4 separate regions of the Homo sapiens genome follow, and all the other regions are linked to region 4. The links are contacts of gene promoters, found by promoter capture Hi-C in blood cells and fetal thymus (Javierre and others, 2016). All regions are on one chromosome and are shown on one strand. Each heading gives the region's core, a stretch centred on a gene start or on the middle of the fragment in contact. The rest is flanking DNA. Distances are from core to core; before and after follow the strand shown.

What was found. The method cuts DNA at HindIII sites, captures the fragments that hold promoters and counts their contacts. A CHiCAGO score of 5 or more calls a contact.
Region 1: a fragment that was not itself captured here is called in contact with the fragment with the promoter of GBP5 in region 4 in 1 of 17 cell types (total CD8 T cells); the score reaches 5.2 in total CD8 T cells.
Region 2: a contact is called between a fragment that was not itself captured here and the fragment with the promoter of GBP5 in region 4, in 6 of 17 cell types (total CD8 T cells, activated CD4 T cells, naive CD8 T cells and 3 more). The highest score is 10.3, in total CD8 T cells.
Region 3: a fragment that was not itself captured here is called in contact with the fragment with the promoter of GBP5 in region 4 in 1 of 17 cell types (non-activated CD4 T cells); the score reaches 5.5 in non-activated CD4 T cells.

Annotation. Positions count from the first base shown.
Region 1 is chr1:89,576,611-89,579,548 of GRCh38, reverse strand. The region is part of intron 3 of LRRC8B (leucine rich repeat containing 8 VRAC subunit B); the gene reads right to left. Among named protein-coding and RNA genes, the nearest start is that of LRRC8B, 53 kb to the right of the region's middle. The HindIII fragment of the contact is 1,247 bases long and covers 922-2,168 here.
Region 2 is chr1:88,966,570-88,969,269 of GRCh38, reverse strand. It overlaps KYAT3 (kynurenine aminotransferase 3), which reads left to right. Exons shown (of 14, transcript NM_001008661.3): 4 at 456-600. Among named protein-coding and RNA genes, the nearest start is that of KYAT3, 25 kb to the left of the region's middle. The HindIII fragment of the contact is 6,056 bases long and covers 1-2,700 here.
Region 3 is chr1:89,550,390-89,553,283 of GRCh38, reverse strand. All of the region lies in intron 1 of LRRC8B (leucine rich repeat containing 8 VRAC subunit B), which reads right to left. LOC124904216 (a long non-coding RNA gene) reads left to right here and starts at 2,395. Exons shown (of 3, transcript XR_007066214.1): 1 at 2,395-2,424; 2 at 2,733-2,800. The HindIII fragment of the contact is 957 bases long and covers 1,074-2,030 here.
Region 4 is chr1:89,271,195-89,274,156 of GRCh38, reverse strand. GBP5 (guanylate binding protein 5) reads left to right here and starts at 1,297. Exons shown (of 12, transcript NM_052942.5): 1 at 1,297-1,705. It also overlaps the pseudogene LOC100421401. The HindIII fragment of the contact is 6,725 bases long and covers 1-2,962 here.

The sequences.
Region 1 (2,938 bases), core at 296-2,795, 310 kb before region 4:
AAACAAACAAACTGGAGATACTGTCTCCAGAAGCCCTCTCAGTCATAAGACATGACATGGCAAATAGATTTTCACACTCTGGGCCTCAAGCAATCCTTCCACCTTGGCCTCTCAAATGCTGGGATTACAGGTGTGAGCCACTGTGCCTGGCTTAGATTTTCATAGGTCAGTTTACTTTTCACACTGGGGCACATTCTGGCAAAGGTGTATCTACAGGGCCCCACTCACATTCATTAAACCATACTCACTCCCTGAACTTCCTTTCAATTACAGGTTAGTTCCCACAGCAATTTAAACACAACATATTTTAAAATTCTGTGTCTACAACACTTAGATGAACACAGCTTTTCTAAGTAGTCGACATATGTTAATTTCTCTCACTCATTCCTCAAACACAGTCGTTCTTATTTGCATTTTTCAGACAGCTTGTCACACCAAGTGATTTCTGTACCCATATTTAAAACCAAACATCTATCCAAATAAGTCTCAGTGCTCCTAAAATTTAGCCTACCAATCTCATTAGAAAAAGTGATAAGTTAATATACTTTTTCAGATACAGCTCAGAAATATGGCTGAAATTACTTGAAATTATGTTATTATTAAACATACTTAGGCTTTATATTAGATTTGTTTAATTTAGAGTTTAATAAAAGCCATTTGTAACATTTATAGTTCAATAATTTGTGATAGTTAAATTACATATATATTGATAATTTGAACTGTGAGAAAATTGTAAAATGCTAGAATTTGTTTTTAATTGAAAGTAAAAATTATATCTTTTAGTGCCTATGAAACCTCAAAAAAAAAGTTTCTAGGGAGATTTTGTATTATACAATCCTTTTTAAAAAGTACTTCAAATCTTCCTAAGAGTACTGACCCCAAATTGTATTTAAGATACTTTTAGCAATAATCTTTTAAGCTTGTCATTTCAAATATCAAAAATTTGGGCATGTCCAAAACTTACTTTGGGTTTACCAAGTCATGTGCAAAGCCTATTTTACAATTAGTCACCATCCAGCATCAAATTGTTTTGCAGGTTAGAAAGCACAGTTAGTATGTATAAGAACCTAGCTGTACACTAATTCATAACTACAGGGCACAACTGGAGTAAGATTTCTCATTCACAATTCACAAGCCTTTATAAAAGTCTTACAACATATATCACATGACTGCATTTATGTGCACTGAGCATGATAAAGACATCTGATGTGTGAAACATTTTACATATTCTTCCATAGCGGCTGCATTTGTAACATGCCAGAAAAGAATTTATTGCATAATTCAAAAATGTTACTCAGCCATGATTCTTCTTATACAGTTCTCCTTAAATATTAGAAATATACTTTCTACTTTATTAATAATTTAACATCTGTTTTTCTACCTTCAAAGCATGTCTCATTTACATTAATTTGTTTTATACTTAAAACAAGCCATTGAAATAAATAGTATTACTCTTTATGTTTATATGCATAGAAATTAAGGCAGTCCCAAAGAATTAACCTTGCCCAAGGTGACAAAACCTCTAAGAAATAAAGTTGCAACTGGAACTTAGGTCCTCATACTCAAATCCCAACCTCATGCACACCAGACCACATGGCCTCAGTCAATCCAATTAACTACGCCACAGTCTTAGGTCTCTCAAAAGCTGAAGAAAAAGCTAATTAGCGCTCTTTCCCAACTCATCCAATATCTGCATTATAACTGGGTTATAACTGCATTATAACTGGGTTTGAATAAGGATGCAAATGTAGTTTTCTGTAATGTCTTCCGTTACATATAATCTACTTTCTCAGCTAAACATTTTCCTACTAAATATTTTCTACTGAACTAAAACTTAATATTTAAATATATAGCATCTGGATTTAAGTATATATAAAACATCTCAGCATTCCTATGTATAAAATGATGATAATTTTCCTATTTGAAGTGCTTAACTAGAGAGTTTAAGCATAGCTATCTTTTGTCATTATGCCATTTAATACTGTCTGTCCAGGAAATTGTTTCCAGACCATATTTTAGTAAACAATGATGATTCAATCCAAATAAAATATCTATTTCTAATATACAAACACACTAAATCAATCCAAAGAAATGTTAAGAGTAATGGATTTTACGGTTCTAATCCCATTATTTCAGCTTTTAAACCTCATTAAGAAGTCATAAAAGCTTTTTCAAAACACATGAATTCACTTGACAATCTTACTCCAAAGTCTCTAAGACTGTAACATCAACATTCAAGTTAGGCATCTTTACTTCCCAGTAGTCCTTATTTTACTTTGAAAGCATTTCTAAAATAACAAGTGAAAAAATAAACAAATGATGATCAGATGGTATTTAGTGTCATTATATACTGAGAAGAGGACGCTACTTCAAAGATCTGTCTCTGACCCCAGGCAGGGATTATAGCCGAACAATTCCAAATAGCGGTTCTCTACACTACTCTCATTGAAAATTGATTTAAAAATCACCTTATATCCCTTCAAAATGTTTAGTGCTACTTCCCATTAAGATGTTTCTTGGGACTAACATATATCTAACTGAAATTTAAATTCGCCTTTTGTTGAGTTCTCTCTCTAGGAAACAATGCATCAGTATCTCTGATTAATATGCCCCTTTTCTTTATGCTAAGTAACTCATTTCACCATTCTTGAGAGATTTAATGACAAGCATTAAACATATTTCAAGTGCTTAAATGATCACCGGCAATAACATTTGATATACTAGTTTCCTTATGTCCCTTTGTAGTTCTTTCAAATCTTGTTAGTACAGTGATTTTCAAATAACAAACATGCTTCCCAAACTCAGTCGTAGTTTTGAGACCTAGAAAGAAAGATTTTTCTAATAGTGGTTCTCTAACATTAATGTACATAAAAATCACCAAGAGCTTATTAAAACATGAAGTGATTAGTCCATCCCTCAGAGTTGCCAATTTGTAAGG
Region 2 (2,700 bases), core at 61-2,560, 300 kb after region 4:
GGAAGTTAGCAATCCATATACTGAATTGTTCATTTGGCACATGTGCCATGCCCTTTGCTGGACACTGGACATATGGCAGAGAAAAGGACAAATGTTAATGCCCTCATGGAACTTAACCTCCAATCCAGGAACTTTTCTTATTAGTTCTGTTCTCTAATAGTTGATGAAAGAACTTAGCAGCAGCTGGAATTGTTGAGAAAATATATATATGTGGTTAAAATATGGGTAGCGTGAAACTGAGGTTTGTAAGGGACATTGGGTTCATAAATTCAGCCATCATTCTATTTGGTAAACTGATTTGTGGTTGGTAAATTTTTGTTGGAAACTCATTTTTTAAAACCTATAGGACTAAACTAGGGTCTTATTTGTCTGTTTTGTGGTAAGACTATAAGATATAAAAAAGCGAACTTTATAATTGTAGAACTTATTAATATTAGTATTTTTTTCAATCTTAGGATTGAATTTACCAAATTGGCTGCAGACCCTTCTGTTGTGAATCTTGGCCAAGGCTTTCCAGATATATCCCCTCCTACATATGTAAAAGAAGAATTATCAAAGATTGCAGCAATCGATAGCCTGAATCAGTATACACGAGGCTTTGTAAGTATATCAAGACCATATGGGCCATGAGCTTTTATTTTATACTGGGGTGTGTGTCTGTGTGTGTGCATGTGCCCTTCTGTCATTCATATATAAGTGACTTTCTGGGACCAGCTGTCCCATCCTAGCAACCACAGAAACTTCTGCCCTTGCCCTATGTCCTGAGATGAGCCTTCGCCTACTTCCAGCCCCTCTACACTTTTCTTTCTTTTGGCCCTTACTTTACTGTTGCTCCAAGATAGGATCCTATGGCAACACGATAAGGAACAACATTCTCTTGAGACATGTCTTTTCTATCTCATCAACATTTATGCAGCCTGAGCACTGACCCTTTATTTAATATATCCAACTAGCTACGTTTTTCCTCCTTGTGCCAGCTCACTCCCATCCTTCTGTAATGAAATGCCTAGGATAGCCAAAGATTTTCTAGATCAGACGTACCTTTGAACTGTAGACTTGTATCTGTTGTGCCAAAAGCCATACAATTATCATATGTCTGACCACTTGTCTTTTCCTTTTATGATATTGTGGGAAATGGGGAGGGGAATGGTATAGGAGGAAGCCTGTTTTTTGTCTTCTATAGTGGTCTAACTATAAAAATCCATAGAAGGGTTTTGCTTTGGGAATAGCACAGGGAAAAGCAGTGAAACTTACCTGTGTCACAGGGTTTGACACTGGTGAGAATCCCTGCTCTTCATAGATCTCACTCCCTGGCCCACCCTACAGACCCCCATCTCAGACCTACTCAACATAACTCACTCCCCAGCCTATACAAATCCATAATGAAAGGCTAGAAACAAACCAACAATAGAGAAAATTAATGAAACCAAAAGCTGGTTCTTTGAAAAGATCAATAAGTAAAAGTTTTAGCTAGATTGACCAATAAAAAAGAAAAAACTCAAAGTACCATATGAAGAATGAAAGAAGGAATATCATTACTGATCATACAAACATGAAAGCAATAATAGGATAATATTATGGATAATTTTATGTCAGTACATTGACAACTTGGATGAAATGAACAGATTATTTAAAAGATACAAATTACCAAAACTGACACAAGGAGAGATGAAAAATGCAACTAGCCCTATGTCAATGAAAGAAAATGAATTTGTAATTAAAGTCTTCCTGCAAACAAACCTCAATACCTAGATGGCTTATTAGTGAATTCTATCAAGTATTTAAGGAAGAACTATTAGGTCAGTGCAAAAGTAATTGCGGTTTTGCCATTAATTTTAATGACAAAAACCGCAATTACTTTTGCACAAACCTAATAATACCAGTTCTGCACACATTTATTCAGAAAGTGGAGCAGGATGAAAAACTTTTACTTATTGATCAACAATTTTTGTAATTTGAAAAATAAAGAAATGCCTAATGGTTTTGTCTGAACTTTTAATCAGGGGTTTTGTATCAGGGTAATGCTGGTCTCATAAAATTAGTTTCAGCATTACCCTGATACAAAAACTGATTTAAAAAATGCCAGCGAAAGAAATAAAGAAAACTCCAGTTCAATATCTCTCATGAACATAGAAACAAAGATTATGAAATTTTAGCAAATCAAATCCAGATATGTGTGTGTGCATGTGTGTGTGCCTGTGTGTATAAAGATATAAAAAGTAATACATCCTGACCAAGTAAGGTTTACCATAGGAATGCAGGATTAGTTTTAATATCCAAAAATTAATCATTGCAATTATGCTATATTATCAGAAAAAAAAGATCATCTTATGTAGTATATATAGAAAATGCATCTGACAAAATTCAACCCTCATTTATAATAAAAGTTTTCAGCCAATTAGAAATAGAATGGAGCTTTCTCACTCTGATAAAAGGAATCTATGAGAAACCTACAGATTACACCTGTAGTGCACATAATATAGTAAGATTGAAAAGACAGCAAAGATGTCCACTCTGACCATTGTTATTCATCAGTGTACTGGAGTCCTGTGAGATATAAAGATACATAGATTAGAAAGAAGAAAAATGTAAACTCATTTTCAGAAAACATGATTGTGTACATAGAATATCCTAAGGAATTCTAAAAGAAAAAAAAGCCTACTACAACTAATAAATGAATTGAGCAAGGTCACAGGACAC
Region 3 (2,894 bases), core at 303-2,802, 280 kb before region 4:
ATTTGTTGCACAACTGGTACCTAATCAAACACTTCTGTAGAAGAGATGATTTCACCACAAGGTAACTTAATTTCAGTGCGAAATAAGTCTTTTAAATTATTTTTAAAGAGTGTTTTTAACCAATTTACATGTCAGAAATTTTATTTCTATAAAAATTACTACATGAACTAAGTCTAAATCAAACAAAAATGCCTTCCTCTACTTTGAAACAATAGTCTTCTCTCATAAACATTTTATTCAAATATTTCCCAGCAACAGGCTTGTGTGCACTAACCAGGAAGTGAAACCAAATATGATCATATTGTGAAAGCAGAGTAAAATGAAAGAACACAATTGGAATTATCTGAAGCATTATTAAAATTTCATCTGAAAATCCAATTCCCTTGGAAACAACAATTTAATCAAGGAAGTAATAAAAGGAATTTCAAAAGCATAATTCTTCATTTTCTTGTGTGGCAGTGTCCCCAGTCTTCTATGCAAATATCTTTTCCTGTAGCCAGGCTGGCTCATCTGAAACACAAGCTTTCACCAACCCGCCTGGTGAACACAGGGAGCAGGGTTAAGCAATCATTTTCATGCTAGTAAATCAACTCTGGTATAAACGATTGCAATCTTTAATGACTTACTTTGGAGAAAAATGTATCTTTTGCTTCTTAGGTAACAAGTAAATCACATTTCTCTTAATTATTTTTCTGTGGTTACTGTCATTCCCTTTAATCTATTGTAAATTATAAGCTCTCTAAAACCAGAAAATGTATTTTACTGATTAGTCTGCTTTTAACTGACTCAGTAACCTAAACATAGTGAGAGTTATTATAAGTACCTAACGATTATTCTTATTGTCTAAGGATAGTGTTAGCAAACAAAACTCACTATGGTTTACATTTTTCTGCTAAGATGGATACTAAGTAGGATCATGAATTTCTGGGCTCCATTACCATATCTCTTATTCCAAGGAGATTGGGTGTGGGAGAAGGGGCTAGAAGACACCATGCAAAAACAGAATATATTCTCATTTACTAATTATTATTCTTTATACTTATTTTTAATTTTAAGCAGGATTTGAGTAAGCTTAGTATTATATACAGTACAATATTCTTATGAAAATGTCCTAGCAATCTAAATAAGAAGGTAGTTCCTGAACTACCTATGACTTCAGCAAGTGATCAGGTAGCCCCTATTAGACACTGCACAAACACAATGCAAATCTGAATATTAGTGCTACTCTGCAGACAAAGCAGACATACTGCTGCTCTGTATAAGAATGAAATGTAAAAGGAAAAAAAACTATGAATAAATAAGCAGTGACAGACAAATCTATTAGCACGGTACATGCATGTATATAAATATATATAATAATCAAATCATGTGGCTAGTGAATTCTAGAAACACTTGAGAGCCTACTATGTTTTAAGAACAGTGTCACACTTAAGAAACTGAGTCAATTCTATTGCCATGGTGTTAAGAGGTTGAAGAGCCTGGCTAGTGGGTCTCATTCAGAGCTTGTCTGTGGACGCACCAAAAGTATTGAGGCAGGCCAGACCGCTAGTCAGTCCCGTTTTCTTTGGGGACCCTCTTTTCTTGTTACTCCCTCACTCACTTTATCAAATACTGCACTTTCACCACAGAGCCTGATCCTTTATATTTATATTCATTGAATTCTCTTGACAGGGAGAATTCATTGAGCATTTGCTGTGGTATGGGCTGAATAAGATAAGAAAGTATATTTCATTTTCTATCTATCCTTAAAACACTTATAAAGTTAGGAAAATGAGAAATTTGTACAAAAAGTGAACAGGAAAAAAATGAAGGATTAAATAGTGGAGTGGAACAACTCTGAACATCTATATAATGCTCAAAAGTTTATGGAGCATTTTTTTCATAGTCATTTAAATCATACACTTGACTTTAGGATAAGGATACAAGCTCAGAGAGAAAAAAAATTAGCTGCTGATGACACATGGCTGGTGAGCAAGAGCTTGATCCTATAACTGACACCAAACATGGTGCTCTTCCAACCATCCAAAGCTTCCTCTTGTAAGATGAACAGGTATAGCTCAGGGAATGGAGAAGGCAACATAGATAAGGTATCTCTGAGCCGTTAGGGATATGCAGGGGCTGGAGCAGGAAAAAAATCTCCAGCGGGGTAGTGGGGAGGGAAAGAGCAGAGGGGTGTTGCCTGAGGAAGAGCAGTGAGGCTGCAGAGGATCTTCACGGCCAGAGGGGGACGACTTCACAAATAAATGAGGCAGTGAGGACATTTACGGTTGGAGATTCCAGAATATGAGAGTATGGCTTGAATTGACTTACAAAAGAGAACAATTATAGATTCTAAAATAGAATGCAAGCAATATTTTAGGAAAACTAACCTGGTAAGGCATGAGAGATACAATGGGGCAGGATCGGGGGCCGGGGGAAATGAAGGTAAGGAAACCAGGCAGGAACCTACTGCAGTCATTCAATGCTGAAGCAGTGAGAGTGAAGACCATGGTAGTATCAGTGAGACTGACCAGGAATGAAGGAATTTAGGCAGAACTGTGGGTTCTGGCTGACTAGAGAGCTGGGAAAAGGGAAGAGCAGTAAAGTTGGGCTGGTGAAAGGCTCTGTTATAAAGTGCTAGTTAATATTCCAATATTCAGTGGAAGACCAAGGAGCTAACTGGTGAATTTTGCCCTTTCATATCAAAGCAAGGCTAATAATTAACATAATTAATCTTTTATGCTTTATTAAAGGTTTGGCATAGCTAAGGTTTGACTGAGTACTGTTCTCGCAAGTGAACCTAGCGGGAAAGCTGAAGAAGGTGAGATGAAAAGGCCATTTAGGTCCAGACCTAATGAGACACAGGTACCATTCTATTGAACCCAAAAAGGTATTTGTGAAAGGGAGTGACTTAA
Region 4 (2,962 bases), core at 48-2,547:
GCCATTCTCCTGCCTCAGCCTCCCGAGTAGCTGGGACCACAGGCGCCCGCCACCATGCCCAGGTAATTTTTTGTATATTTTTAGTAGAGACGGGGTTTCATCGTGTTAGCCAGGATGGTCTAGATCTCCTGACCTCGTCATCCACCCGCCTCGGCCACCCAACATGCTGGGATTACAGGCGTGAGCCACCGTGCCCAGTCCCTCATGGAAGCAGTTTTCTTACTAGCTCTAAAATACCTCTTCTCCCGATTTTATAATCAAGGTAATGAGAGGTGACGGCGTGCTGGCAGCCCTTGCAGCCCTCCCTCGCTCTCGGTGCCTCCTCTGCCTGGGCACCCACTCTGGCGGCACTTGAGGAGCCCTTCAGCCCTCCGCTGCACTGTGGGAGCCCCTTCCTGGGCTGGCCGAGGCCGGAGCTGGCTCCCTCAGCTTGCTGGGAGGTGTGGAGGGAGAGGCAGGGGTGGGAACTGGGGCTGCGCCCGGTGCTTGAGGGCCAGCGCGAGTTCTGGGTGGGCTTGGGCTCTGAGGGACCTGCACTCGGAGCGGCCCCAGGCAGTGAGGGGCTTAGCACCTGGGCCAGCAGCTGCTGTGCTCCACTTCTTGCAGGGCCTTAGCTGCCTCCCGGTGGGGCAGGGCTGGGGACCTGCAGCCTGCCATGCCTGAGCCTCCTCCCCTCTCCCGCTCCCCACCTCACCCCGCCATGGGTTCCTGTGCTGCCTGAGCCTCCCCAACCTGTGCTGACCCCTGCTCCACAGCACCCTGTCCCATCCATGGCCCAAGGACCGAGGAGTGCCAGTGCATGGAGCAGGACTGGCAGGCAGCTCCACCTGCCGCCCGGTGCAAGATCCACTGGGTGAAGCCAGCTGGGCTCTTGAGTCTAGTGGGAACTTGGAGAATCTTTATGTCTAGCTAAGGGATTGTAAATACACCAATCAGCACTCTGTATCTATTTAATCTGGTGGGGACTTGGAGAATCTTTATGTCTAGCTAAGGGATTGTAAATGCACCAATCAGCACTCTGTATCTACCTCAAGGTTTGTAAATGCACCAATCAGCACTCTGTATCTAGCTCAAGGTTTGTAAATAGGCCAATCCACACTCTGTATCTAGCTAATCTAGTGGGGACATGAAGAACTTTTGTGTCCAGCTCAGGGATTGTAAACACACCAATCAGCACCCTGTCAAAACAGACCAATCAGCTCTCTGTAAAATGGACCAATCGGCTCTCTGTAAAATGGACCCATCAGCAGGATGTGGGTGGGGCCAGATAAGAGAAGTAGCCAGCAGTGGCAACCCACTGAGGTCACCCTCCAGGCTGTGGAACCTTTGTTCTTTCACTCTTTGCAATAAATCTTGCTGCTGCTCACTCTTTGGGTCCACACTGCCTTTATGAGCTGTAACACTCACTGGGAATGTCTGCAGCTTCACTCCTGAAGCCAGCGAGACCACGAACCCACCAGGAGGAACAAACAACTCCAGACGCGCAGCCTTAAGAGCTGTAACACTCACCGCGAAGGTCTGCAGCTTCACTCCTGAGCCAGCCAGACCACGAACCCACCAGAAGGAAGAAACTCCAAACACATCCGAACATCAGAAGGAGCAAACTCCTGACACGCCACCTTTAAGAACCGTGACACTCAACGCTAGGGTCCGCGGCTTCATTCTTGAAGTCAGTGAGACCAAGAACCCACCAATTCCGGACACGGTAAGACTGGGGCAAGAGGTGGAAGAGATTTGCAAGATTCATTTGGTTTTAGAAACATTCTACAAAGGATAGGATGCAGCTTATCCTGATGTGGTATATCAGACCTCAGTAAAGAATAAATTGTATTCTTATCAGACAGGCAGCAGAATTCATCAAGTACCAGCTGTGTCTGCCTCTTGCTGAATTAGACATCAATGTGTGTGGTGACTAAACTAAGAGTTTGAAATGCCTTCAAATTATTTTTCTTCCTTTGCAATTTTATGACTTATTCAGGATCATAATTTCCACTTAAGTTACCTTCGTCCTTCATAAAATCTGATTAAACTGACTCGAACTTCAGCATGAAAGTTTCAAAAACTATGATAGCTATTATTTTCATGAGAAAGAACAATGAATATGATGCAATGTAAGTAGCTTGCAAACATTAAGGACAAGAAAAAAATGTTGCCCAGAGAGAAGTTTCATGAAAACAGTGATGTATTTTTAGTCATAGTCTTGTACTTTGTTTGAAAGTAGATTTCTTCCTTTAGCAATAGCCCTGACTTAATTCATGTTGGTTTCTTGGCATCTACTCACTTAACTAACCCCTTTTGTGTTGGGTTCTGCTTCTACTACTCTATTGCCTTTACTATTATGAATCACCTAATTTAACAGTTGCCCAACTGGATCCCTCAATACTGTCTGGCAACTGTTCACTCGTTGAAATTCTCTCCTTTGAATTTCTTACCATGACACATACTTCAAGCATTTTGTACTAGTTTGATTTCCATTTATATCCTTAATAAGAGCCTTTTCCTTTTCCTTGAAATTCAAACCAGAAACTATGCAAAATAAGCAAAAGCAAGCAATAACAACTACATATACAAATGCAGGCGCAAAACCCAAACTAGAATCATATGGCTGAAAACAGATGTTTTCTTTCAGAAATCCTTCCACTACCACTTCTGAGCATTTTCTCTTAGTATTTTTTTTTGGGCATTTTCCTTCTTTGCACTTTTTAAAATCTCCTGCAGCTCGCTCACTCTCTTTCATAAGCCAGCAGTTATACTGATGTTAATAAATAGTTGTTTATTTACTTTTGCTTTTTTAGAAAACAAGCTGAAAGAATTGAGTGAAATGCCAGAGAGATACAGATAGCCAGTTGTAGGGCTGGGGTTGGAAATCAAGTCTAATTTAAGGCAAGGGCAAAATGTGCATTTTGTGTGTGTATTTTGAACCATTCTTGCATTGTTTTTATTTGCAAAGGTTATAGGGCTC